2 separate regions of the Homo sapiens genome follow, and region 2 is linked to region 1. The links are contacts of gene promoters, found by promoter capture Hi-C in human tissues and cell types (Jung and others, 2019). All regions are on one chromosome and are shown on one strand. Each heading gives the region's core, a stretch centred on a gene start or on the middle of the fragment in contact. The rest is flanking DNA. Distances are from core to core; before and after follow the strand shown.

The links. Contacts are between HindIII fragments. The study calls those that stand out against the background at their distance.
Region 2: a fragment that was not itself captured here is called in contact with the fragment with the promoter of CCRL2 in region 1 in 1 of the 25 tissues and cell types used here (lymphoblastoid cells).

Annotation. Positions count from the first base shown.
Region 1 is chr3:46,403,163-46,409,723 of GRCh38, forward strand. CCRL2 (C-C motif chemokine receptor like 2) reads left to right here and starts at 4,097. Exons shown (of 2, transcript NM_003965.5): 1 at 4,097-4,340; 2 at 4,906-6,361. The coding sequence starts at 4,918. The coding sequence ends at 5,952. It overlaps CCR5AS (CCR5 antisense RNA), which reads right to left and starts at 3,904. Exons shown (of 4, transcript NR_125406.2): 1 at 3,735-3,904. The HindIII fragment of the contact is 5,778 bases long and covers 3,733-6,561 here.
Region 2 is chr3:45,151,200-45,157,745 of GRCh38, forward strand. No RefSeq gene overlaps it. Among named protein-coding and RNA genes, the nearest start is that of CDCP1, 8.1 kb to the left of the region's middle. The HindIII fragment of the contact is 6,481 bases long and covers 110-6,546 here.

The sequences.
Region 1 (6,561 bases), core at 2,847-5,346:
CCATGTCTTTGCTACTGTGAATAGTGCTGCAATGAACATTCACATGCGTGTGTCTTCATGGTAGAATGATTTATATTCCTCTGGGTGTATACCCAGTAATGGGATTTCTGTTTTTAGCTCTTTGATCTAATACCTATTTCTCAAGATCAAGTTAGATCTCTAAAAAAGGCATCATCCTAGCATTTCCCCATCCCTTCCCTGAACTAAATTTAATGTTGTGTGTATCAATCAGCATACAGTCAAGACAGAAACCACACATGAACATTAAATATAATGAGTTATTAACTTATAAAAGGGTATGAACTACTAAAGGGGGTAAGGAGAATGCTGAAGAATGCAGGAATGGCAGATGTAGAGAGCAGCCATAACCTCTAAGCTAAGGCACAGCAGCCAAGGAAGGGGCGAACTCAAAAAATGCCCTCCCTCCCCAGCTGATCCACCCTTGTTGGAGGGGGTGTGGCTGCAACCCAATGGATGCCCAAGAAGTTTGCAGAGTTGTGGCAGGTTGGGGCTGCTGAGCAGGAAACTGCCCGAAGGGGTACCAGTGAGATTCCCAAGAATGTGGGCATGCCTCTGGCGAGGAAGACGCTCTTGGAGTGCCAGCAAAATTTACTAGGAAGCTACCCAGTAGGGTGCCAGCAAAAGTCAGCAGGAAGCCACTGTCGTGGTGTCGGCAAAATTCACTGAGGAGTGGGCACTGCAGGGTCTCCACCCAGCACTGGCAAATCAGCCAAAAGAACAAAAACAAAATAAAAACAAATCCCAGAACCAGAAAGAAAAAACTCTGCCTCTTACTGCGACCCTCTTATGCCTTCTACAGCAACTGGCAAAGGAGAAATGTTTATGGGGTCCAGCTCTAGACTCACAAAGCAGAACACAGAAGAGTGAATGAAGAGCTGAAAGGCGATAAATCAGTAACTGGAGCCTCACATCCTTTGCCTTTTTTATTGAGGGTCAATATATTAAGAAGAATATGTCTGCGTCTTCGGTAAAATTATTGCTAAGGTTATCACCCAGTGTGTGTTTTCAACCTCCCTGATATAAGAACTTAGTGACAAGAAAGAATGAGACAATGATCATGAACTATTGGACCCAACCATTTGTGGCTTTAGTGCCCATCTTCTCAGCAAGGCTTTCTCTCTCTCTCTCTCTCTCTCTCTCTCTCTTTTTTTTTTTTTTTTTTTTTTTTTAAGATGGAGTCTCACTCTGTCACCCAGGCCGGAGTGCAGTGGCACAATCTTGGCTCACGGCAACCTCCACCTCCTGGGTTCGAGTGATTCTCCTGCTTCAGCCTCCCGAGTAGCTGGGATTACGGGCACCCATCGCCACCCCTCCTGGCTAATTTTTGTATTTTTAGTAGAGATGAAGTTTTGCCATGTCGGCCAGGCTGTTCTCAAACTCCTGACCTCAAGTGATCCACCCACCTCAGCCTCCCAAAGTGCTGGGATTACAGGCATGAGCCACCACAGCCAGCTCTCAGCAAGGCTTTTTCTGACTACACTATTTAAAATGTGATCCCTGAGCCACCTTGGCCTCTCTTGCTGTCCTTCCCTGCTTCGCCTTCTCCATAGCACTTCTCTCCTACTAATCTACAATTTACTTGAGCTCTGTGAAGGTCAGGATTTTTGCCTATTTTGTCCATTGGTGCATCCCCAGCACCTGGAACAGAGCTAGGCACAGGCTAGGCACTCTAGAAATACTTGCTGAATAATTGAATTAAGTAAATGAGTGATCTACACGTAGTGGGGAATGAGAGTATACAGTGATAGTTCCTTCGACTAAAACTGGGGTCAAATTATAGTGATAAAGAGGAACTCAGACCTTCAGAGGTAAGCTTTGTGGACCACTTGCCAAGGCTGCAGAATGTGATGTCGTTTCACAAACAAGGAGGCCCTATTATGGCTTCAGATATGAGAATAATAAAGAGAACTTTCCTTTCGCCTCAACTGCAGCCTTCTAAACTCTTCCTTCCTTCCTATGTAGAAGTTTCAAGGACCTCATGGCCTGAGTGTGGATAGGCAGAATGCTGGGAATCAGGCAAAAATAAAATAATACTGAAAGTGAAGGTCATGCTAATATTAGTAAGCCAGGGTGATCCTGAATTTACAAAACATTTTTCTTTGGGAAATTTCACACCTCACATGATTCTGTGTTTTTACTTGGGAAATTTCACATCTCACATGACTCTGTGACATGCGGTACATGAGGTGCCTGACTGCTGTTTTTGTCCTCTACTAATGAGGAAGAGTGTGCGTACTCCCAGCGTTTTGCAAGTTTCAAAGTCTGACTTGACTTTCCTTCCTTTTCCTGGAACTGATCCATGAGTATCGAGAGTAAAGCTGCCCGCACCTACTCATTCAAGATCCTGAGTGTCCTGCCCAGCTGCAGGAGGTGGAGAGACCCAGGAGGAGGGGCCACTGCTGATCCCAGGCTGTAGGGGGTGGGAAGAGTGTCCCAGGGCACCATGACCCCCACTCACTCACTCACAGGAGACCCACACAAGAGAGGAGAGGGCACTTACAGCTTAGGTTCCCACCAGCACCAACTCCTCTGCCATCAAACATCATTGTGTTTCTCTTTCTGCCTTGTCTGTCGGCACACGTGGAGTTAAATTTAATGCTCAATCACATATTTGTCTGGGCTCTTTCTGTGTTTATTTTTCTCTTAATAGTTCTCTCTCCTCCCTTCCTCTCCCCGCCCCTCCTCCTCCTTCTTCTTTTTTTTTTCCAGAGACAGTGTCTCGCTCTGCCACCCAGGCCAGAGTGCAGAGTGGCATGATCATGGCTCACCGCAGCCTCCAACTCCTGGGCTCACGTGAACATCCCACCTTGGCCTCTGGAATGTCTGGGATTACAGGCACTTGCCACTGCATCTGGCTAATTTTTATATTGTTTATAGATCCGGGATCTCACTATGTTGCCCAGGCTGGCCTCAAACTCCTGGGCTCAAGCGACCCTCCCACCTCATACTTCTGAGTAGCTGGGGCTGTAGGAATGCGCCTCAGTGCCAGGCTAGTTTCTTAATTTTCTATTTCTATTTTGACAGGTACAAATTTTGTATTCAATCCTACCTCAGACACATCTTTGGTGGGAAAAGGATGTCATTTAATCAATATATAAATTCTAAGCAAATAGGTCTGATCCCCAAATTAGGTTAGTCACAGCTGCTGAGTCGTTGACCCAAGAGAAGCTCATCTAGATTTTTTCATTATTTTCAAGTTCCTCTTCTCGGTTCGTCCTTCTTCCAGACCGTGCCCTCCCCGTCCCACTCTCTTCCCACAGCCTCCCCTCCCCACAGCCTCCTCCCACCATTCCAAATCTGGGCTGTTCTCTCAATTTCCTTCTCTCTGGACTCAAACCTACCCTAGCCCCCAGCCTCAGTTTGGGGTTAAACTTGTCCTCCTCACATTCTCTCCCACCCAACTTGATGTCGCCTCTGTGTCATCACCACGGGATTTTCCTCCTCTGGGTTCTCCTTTTCCGAGTGGGGTCAGCTCCCCCATGAGTCACAGCACCAATCACTTCTGGCTGCTTGCAAACCCCTTTGCTTTCCTCAGTGTTGACACCCAGGGCAGCCCTATGCTCACTGCCGCTGAGACCCCACCTCTGCCCCTGGCCTTTTCCCAGCTGACATCACCCTGTGGCTTCCATTTTCCTAAAATTCTCTTTTGAGGCCTCAGTCTTAACCAAAGCACACAGTGCCCCTCAAAAATGACAATAAAAACCCAAACACACCGTGACTGTCATGGCAGGTTCCTGGTCCCCGTATTGAATCAGCGGGTGGGTTTCTGCGAACACTGGTGAGAGGCCGCATTAGAGGGTCAGGACCCTCAGGTCTGGACTCGTGGTCACCACATACCTTCCTCCCTGCTGACAGTAGCTGGTACCTGTTACCTACTCAGAGTGTCACATGCCACAAGCCAGAGCGTCTTGGCAGTTCTCAGCACCTTGACATCACTTCCTTGCTACCACTCAGAGCGGCAGTGACACAGTTCCCTTATCTCAGAAGGCCAGAAGACGGCTGTCAAAGGTCACAGGGAAATCAAAGGCGGGGTACAGGGCCAGAGGGAGGAGGAAACAACTTCCCGGTTGCTTTCAGACGCTTCAGAGATCCTCTGGAGGCCTGGGGGAGCTTTTGAGTACTTTATTTCAGTTGGTCCCTGAGCTCGGTGAGTGGGGCGGGTAGAGCCACCAGGGGAATCAACAGTGGTTTCTCGTGCCCCTCAGGGTCAGGAGCAGTCTGATCAAAAGGAGGGCATCCACTGTCCGGGGCCATTCCCACAGCTCCCGGATGCTGGGTCTGGAGGCTGCGCCCTTCCCCTGCAGGAGCTCAGCCCAGTGGTAAGTCATCTGTGTGTCATCTATGTATTTAACCCCTTATGGCCATGTTGATGCTGAGCATGGTTTCACTTTTGCAAACATTTATTTATACCCTTCGAGAGAAAAACGTCTCAGCTGTCACAGGAAGCTGCTTCGGGGGGTGAGCAAACTTTTTAAAATGCAGAAATTATGATCTACACCCGTTTCTTAAAAGTAAGCCATCGTACTTGGTTCTCTTTAATTATATATTTTCTTACATATTGTGTTCATGTAGGCAAGTCCTGTTTCTGCTAAAAGAAGGTAAGTTCTACCAAGGCGGTGTCATGCCAGCTTTATTTCCCGTGGCACCTGGCACACTGCTAAGCACTTACATGCTTAACAACTAGATTGGGAATGGTGCTGCTCTGGGGAAGTGGGCACACGTTAAAGAAATGTTTATTTCAGTCTTCTGAAATAGGGAATTACTCTGGCTAAAATGTAGCTCCAGAAAGGGAAAGTGGGGCTGTATGAATCCAGGTCCAGTTTGTTGTTTCCTCCAGGATAAGGCAGCTGTCGGAGGGGAAAATCATCTCCCATTTCTCCACAGGGCAGTCTGAAGATGGCCAATTACACGCTGGCACCAGAGGATGAATATGATGTCCTCATAGAAGGTGAACTGGAGAGCGATGAGGCAGAGCAATGTGACAAGTATGACGCCCAGGCACTCTCAGCCCAGCTGGTGCCATCACTCTGCTCTGCTGTGTTTGTGATCGGTGTCCTGGACAATCTCCTGGTTGTGCTTATCCTGGTAAAATATAAAGGACTCAAACGCGTGGAAAATATCTATCTTCTAAACTTGGCAGTTTCTAACTTGTGTTTCTTGCTTACCCTGCCCTTCTGGGCTCATGCTGGGGGCGATCCCATGTGTAAAATTCTCATTGGACTGTACTTCGTGGGCCTGTACAGTGAGACATTTTTCAATTGCCTTCTGACTGTGCAAAGGTACCTAGTGTTTTTGCACAAGGGAAACTTTTTCTCAGCCAGGAGGAGGGTGCCCTGTGGCATCATTACAAGTGTCCTGGCATGGGTAACAGCCATTCTGGCCACTTTGCCTGAATTCGTGGTTTATAAACCTCAGATGGAAGACCAGAAATACAAGTGTGCATTTAGCAGAACTCCCTTCCTGCCAGCTGATGAGACATTCTGGAAGCATTTTCTGACTTTAAAAATGAACATTTCGGTTCTTGTCCTCCCCCTATTTATTTTTACATTTCTCTATGTGCAAATGAGAAAAACACTAAGGTTCAGGGAGCAGAGGTATAGCCTTTTCAAGCTTGTTTTTGCCATAATGGTAGTCTTCCTTCTGATGTGGGCGCCCTACAATATTGCATTTTTCCTGTCCACTTTCAAAGAACACTTCTCCCTGAGTGACTGCAAGAGCAGCTACAATCTGGACAAAAGTGTTCACATCACTAAACTCATCGCCACCACCCACTGCTGCATCAACCCTCTCCTGTATGCGTTTCTTGATGGGACATTTAGCAAATACCTCTGCCGCTGTTTCCATCTGCGTAGTAACACCCCACTTCAACCCAGGGGGCAGTCTGCACAAGGCACATCGAGGGAAGAACCTGACCATTCCACCGAAGTGTAAACTAGCATCCACCAAATGCAAGAAGAATAAACATGGATTTTCATCTTTCTGCATTATTTCATGTAAATTTTCTACACATTTGTATACAAAATCGGATACAGGAAGAAAAGGGAGAGGTGAGCTAACATTTGCTAAGCACTGAATTTGTCTCAGGCACCGTGCAAGGCTCTTTACAAACGTGAGCTCCTTCGCCTCCTACCACTTGTCCATAGTGTGGATAGGACTAGTCTCATTTCTCTGAGAAGAAAACTAAGGCGCGGAAATTTGTCTAAGATCACATAACTAGGAAGTGGCAGAACTGATTCTCCAGCCCTGGTAGCATTTGCTCAGAGCCTACGCTTGGTCCAGAACATCAAACTCCAAACCCTGGGGACAAACGACATGAAATAAATGTATTTTAAAACATCTATTTAATGTATTTTAAAATAATTTGTAAGTTGATTTTAAAACCAATTTAACTACATTCCAAATTATAGACAGCCCATTTATATGGGAGTAACTTTTCAGGCTCATTGCCTCGCCGGTGATGAGAAGAACTAGCTAGCTGGAAGCTGTGGGAAAAAGAGGTAAGGTAACTTGTTCTGTCGAAGTTCTCTAAATTCTCTTGCT
Region 2 (6,546 bases), core at 2,100-4,599, 1.3 Mb before region 1:
GCAAGAAAAGGGTCTCACAGAAAATAACAAAAATCAAAGTGGTTTTGGATTTCTCAAGAACAACACTGGAATTTGGAAAACAATGAAGCAATACCTTCAAAATTCTGAAGAGAGATAACTTCCAAATTAGAATTCTATACCTAGCCAAACTACCAATTAAACAATAAGGTAGAAAAAGGGCACTTTTAAACGTTCAAGATCTTAAAAAACCTCCAAACCTCCTACATACCTCTTCTCAAGAAAATACTGGAAGATGTGTTGCATTAAAACAAAAAATGCCTACAACACAGGGAGGAGTGGATACAGGTTTGTGGGGGGTAAACATAATCACCTTAAGAAAAATAATACAAAGTTGCAAATAGAAAATCAAGTGTGGGGCCAGGCATGGTGGCTCATACCTGTAATCCCAGCACTTTGGGAGGCAGGGGTGGACGGATCACCTGAGGTCAGGAGTTCGAGACCAGCCTGGCCAACATAGTGAAACCCTGTCTCTACTAAAACTACAAAAATTAGCCAGGCATGGTGGCACATGCCTGTAATCCTAGCTACTTGGGAGGCTGAGGCAGGAGAATGGCTTGAACCCGGGAGGCGGAGGTTGCAGTGAACTGATATCGCACCATTGCACTCCAGCCCGGGTGACGGGGCAAGACTCCTGTCTAAAAAAAAAAAAAAAAAAAAAAAAGAGAGAGAGAGAGAAAGAAAAGAAAAGAAAATCAGGTGTGAAAACGATTACTGTGTTTAGACTGAGGAAAGAAATCTCAATGAATTACAAATGGAAAAATATCACAAATGTTCCAAAATCCAGAAAAAATAACATAGTATTTTTACTGTTAATTGTCTGGTTCAACTCTAAGTCATTCTCCAGGTCATTTTGCAAGATGCATCAGATAAGATGCAACTGATATGTTGAGATCCGTAAGACCTGTGAATTCACATGCAGAAATACTCACTGTCCATAGAACCATTATAGTTTTGTGCCCTACAAATACAGAAATTCCTATAAATTCCATTTGTGTGATTCCTATTAAATATAAAGATCAAAATAGTATAGTGCATTCAAAATTATACTGCTGATTACCAATTTGTTTCTGACAGAAAAAAAAGCCCATCATTTTTGATAAGCCATGATGAGTTGCATGTTCTGCTTAAAATTTTAGCTTTGATAATTGGAAAAATTTTCCACAGACTAGCTTCTTCCGGATCTGTACATTTCACTTTATTCCTCCTCCTCCACTGTGCACATACTCTGGGTGTTGGACACTGTAGCACAGGTTCATAATGTAATATCACCTCTGGCCTTGCTCCTTCTGGTCACCTTACCTTGTGAGTCAGCCCAGTGGATGGGAGGAGTATTCCTAGAAGCCATTACTACAATGTGAGAACAAGCAATGGCTTAACTATACATGAATGTGACCATGAATCAAATAAATATATCCCACCAGACCCCAATTATAATAAATGTATGTCTGAGTTAACATCCCTTTAGCCTGATCCCAAAATGCCCACAGCCAATCAATGCTACATTGTATAAGGGGAAGTTTGATGGAAAGAAAGTGGAGGGAAGGCTTTTTTTGGCAGTCAGAATACGTGCCTTTGCAAATTTGACAAAGACCTATGACCAGGGAAGCACACTGGAGCTTTCTTAGCTTCTTTGTGTACTTGCCTCTAGATATATGAAGTACAGATACAGCCCAAGGGAGAGTCAAGGAACTCCCAGGGTGATGTGCCCCAGACTTAGAGAGCCCAGCATCCAGACTGAGTCAAGCCATAAACACATGGCCAACTACACTGGGCCCTGAATTCCGTAGCCACCCTTCTCTCCTGAGTGAACAGATGGGCGGAGTTAAATCAAATGGAGCCATTGCTTTTAGTGATGAGATTCTCAAATAATAATGGTGCTTGGTTAAGACCACCCCCCCCCCGCCCCCGACACAAACCTGTGCTCTGCAAATGCCCTTGAGCCACGTACACCTGAACAAGCACAGAGAAGGAGCCTGCACCAGCCCTGGATACCTACCTAGCTTTTTACATGAAAGAAGAATAAACGTCTCTTTTTTAAGCTTCCAGTCACTTGTGCCTGAACCCCATCCTAAGGCAGGCTTAGGAGATTTTTCTGCTGCTATGGAAAATGGAAGGGAGAGCAAACCCATGTGATTCACTGCAAATAAAGGACTTGACCTAAGTGGGTAAGATGGAATGGCTCAGCGACTATGAATGTGCATTCTGCAGTCAGATGTCCTGGATTCAAATACTGTCTCTTGCCGGGTGCGGTGGCTCACGCCTGTAATCCCAGCAATTTGGGAGGCTGAGGCAAGCAGATCACCTAAGATCAGGAGTTCAAGACCAGCCTGGCCAACACGGTGAAACCCCGTCTCTACTAAAAATACAAAAATTAGCCAGGCATGGTGGTATGATCCTGTAGTCCCAGCTACTCAGGAGGATGAGGCAGGAGAATCACCTAAACCCGGGAGGTGGAGGTTGTGGTGAGCTGAGATTGCACCACTGCACTCCAGCCTGGGTGACAAAGCGAGACTCCATCTCAAACAAAAACAAAAACAAATACAAATACTGCCTCTGCAACTTTACTGGCTTGTGCCAACTCCTTTCACCTACATGTGCCTCACTTTCCTCATCCATGAACTGGGTCCATGAATCGGGTGTTGTAAAGATTAATGAGGTAATATATGTAACACATTTAGCACAGTGCTTGGCACATAGTAAATGCACAGTAAAGTTAGCTGAGATTGCCTGTGTTGTGAGCAAGGGATGAAAGGAGTGGGTATTAGCTTGGTGGGGAGGTAAGCTATGGAAGTGGAGTGCAGAGTTCTGGAAAGAGAATGCTACAGACAAATTTCTTCATAGTCTCATTCAAATCTGAAAGTGTCAGCTCCTCAAGGCAGGAAGCTGTGTCTGTTTTATTCATCTTTATATTTCTGGAGCTGAAGATAAGGATTGAGTAAATGCTTAACAAATAGTTGGGGAATGAATGAACTCATTAGCCAAGGATGTGTGGATTACCCCACCAACTGGGCCACTGAGCCCAGGGAGCTCTTTGAAACTTGTGACCCTGAAAAGATGAATGCACAGCTCATTTTAAAGAGGGGGTAGGGCCCCTGGTCGAATGCAGTCATTGTGGCCATGTTGGGTGTCTAGCAGCCTCCCTTGCCTTGTAGGATGGGCCAGAGTCCGGTGGGCCAGGACTTTATCCAGTTTGAACAGAGGATGGACAGAACATCTGTCCAAATCAGGTAACTTCTCCGAAACTTTCCTTTCCGGTGATTAAGCAAGTTAATAAAGTTGAGATTCTTTCAGTGCACAAATAGCTCTTAGTGTCACTGTCAATGTCAACTACTGTTTGAGGGAGAAAACTTCCCATTCACAGTTTGAGCAGAGCTTCTTTGTGAGCCTCAAAACAGAAGAGTTTGCCATTGTCTCAGGATGAGATAGAAGTTCCTTGGGAATGACTGACTTTGCCAAGTAATTTGCCCAACGTTAACCACTTGGTATAATTTCAGTCTTAGAATGAGTAAGACAAATAACAACAATCCTTGCAGAGCAGCTAGTCATGCCGCCACGGATGGAGTCTGAATGAACTCAGTTCTGCATGACTCAGGAACTCGGCAGCAGGTAGCTGAGCACCTTCTGAGGTCACCCCAAAGCGACCAGAGGCCTGGGATCCATGCACCATCACCTCCTCAAACTGTACCATCTAAGATATCAAGTTGAAATGCCCAGGGGCAAAAAGAGAGGAAGAGTATAGATGTCTACTCCTTTCTTAAGCTTGTGCAACCAGCTCTCAGTAAGTCACTTGCCCACAGGGTAGAGAGAGCCATACCCTGCCCATCCCTGGAGTCTGCATCACCCTCGGATATGATCCATCCCCATGTCAGGCCTCTGCTTGCCAGCCTTGCTTCTTTCTTTTCTGTGTGTTTCCTTGAAATCTGGGAGGAAAAGAGCTTTAGTCGTGCTCTCAGGGATTTTCCTCCCCCTGGAGAGGGAATTGAGTCACATCATTGTTGAGCAGGAGGACTTGGAGCTCATCTGGTTGACATCTCCCTGATGGACGCAGGCCTGGAAAGGGTGACACAGTTGAGTCAAATAGCAGGTGACCTTCAGAGCAGAAGCCAGGTGTCCATCCAATAGTTCATGAGCTTTCCTTTCTGAAAAATCTTGGTTCCTGGCTGAATGCTCTGGCTTGTGCCTATAATCCTAGCACTTTGGGAGGCTGAGGCAGGAGGATAGCTTGATGTTAGGAATTTGAGACCAGCCTGGGCAACATAGTGAGATCCTGTCTCTACAAATAAATTTTAAAAATTAGCCAGGTGTGTGCCTGACCCCCTTTTTAAAAATTGTGGTAGAATATGTATATAACATAACATTTGCCATTTTAACCATTTTTAAGTGTGCAGTTTAGTGGCATTAGTACATTCATATTGTCTTGCAGCTGTCACCACCATCCATCTCCAGAGCTTTCCCTTCTTCCCGAACTGAAACTCTGCAACCATTAAACTATAACTCCCCTTCCTTGCTTCCCTCCAGCCCCTGTCATCCACCACTCTACTTTCTTTTTTTTTTTTTTTGAAATGGAGTCTCGCTCTGTTTCCCAGGCTGGAGTGCAGTGGTGCGATCTCGGCTCACTGCAAGCTCTGCCTCCCGGGTTCATGCCATTCTCCTGCCTCAGCCTCCAGAGTAGCTGGGACTACAGGCGCCTGCCACCATGGCCGGCTAATTTTTTATATTTTTAGTAGAGATGGGGTTTCACCGTGTTAGCCTGGATAGTCTCAATCTCCTGACCTCATGATCCACCCACCTTGGCCTCCCAAAGTGCTGGGATTACAGGGGTGAGCCGCTGCGCCCAGCCTCTACTTTCTGTCTCTATGAATTTGCCTATTCTAGGTAGTAAATGGAATTGTATATTTGTCCATTTGAGACTGGCTTACTTCACTTAGCATAAGGTCCTCCAGATCCATCCATGTTGTCGCATGTCACAATTTCCTTCCTTCCTAAAGCTGAATAATATTCCATTGTGTAGATACACATACACACCACAATTTGTTTATCCATTTATCCATCAGTGGACACTTGGATTGTTTCTACCCTTTAGTTATTGTGAGTAATGCTGCTCTGAACCATGGTTGTACAAATATCTCTTCAAGATGCCGTTTTCAGTTCTTTTGTGTATATACCCAGAGTAGAATTGCTGGATCATATGATAATTCCATGCTTAATGCTTCGAGGAACCTCATATGTACTCTTTTTAAAAAGCATAACTACAATGCCATTGTCACACCTACAAATGAATGAATCATGACTCCTTAATCACATTTAATGTCCAGTCACTGTGAGGTTTCCAATTGTCTTATCAATGTTATTTTTAAAATATTTTAGGCCAGGCATGGTGGCTCATGACTGTAATGCCAGCACTTTGGGATGCTGAGGCAGGAGGATCGTTTGAACTCAGGAGTTCAAGACCAACTTGGGCGACATGGTAAACCCTGTCTCTACTAAATACAAAAAGTAGGCAGGGGTGGTAGTGTGTGCCTGTGGTCCCAGCTACTAGGGAAGCTGAGGTGGGAGGATCGCTTGAACCCCAGGAGGTGGAGGCTGCAGTGAGCTGAGAACGCACCACTGCTCTCCAGCCTGGGTGACAGAGCAAGACTCTGTCTCAAAAGATAAATAGATAAATAAATAAATAAATAAATAAATAAATAAATAAATAAAAGTTTCATTGTTTGAATCAGAATCCAAATAAAGTTCCTATATTACAATTGGTTGGTATGTCTTTCTAAAAAAATAAACTTAATTTTGGTGTCATATTTACAGAAAAACTGCAAAGGTACTACAGAGAACGCTCATGCACTCGTTCGCTAGCTAGTTCTAATGTCAATATCTTGCATATTACTGTATATTTGTCAAAACTAAGAAAATATTATCAGCACTTTACTATGAGCAAACTCCAGACTTTATTCAAATTTCACTCCTTTTTCTATGAATGTCCTCTTTCTGTTTCAAGATCCCATCCAGGACCCCACACTGCATTTAGTTATTGTGTCTCAGACTCCTCCCATCGGTGACAGGTCCTCAGGTTTTGTTTTTCATGATCTTGAAAATTTTGAGGCGTCGTGGTCAGGTATTTTGCAGAGTTTCCCTCAATATGGGTTTGTCCAATATTTTTGTCATGATTAGCTGGGATTAAGACACTTTGGGAAGGCCAGGCATGGTGGCTCACGCTTGTAATCCCAGCACTTTGGGAGGCTAAGGTGGGTGGATCACTTGAGGTCAGGAGTTTGAGACCAGCCTGGCCAACATGGCAAAACCCCATCTGTACTAAAAATACAAAAGTTAGCCAGGTATGGTGGCGCATGCCTGTAATCCCAGCTACTTGGGAGGCTAAGGCACAATAATTGCTTGAACCTGGGATGTGGAGGTTGCAGCGAGCCAAGATTACACCACTGCACTCCAGCCTGGGTGACAGAGCGAGACTCTATCTCAAAAAAAAAAAAAAAAGGGGGGACTATTTGGGAAGAATTTCACAGACGTGATGTG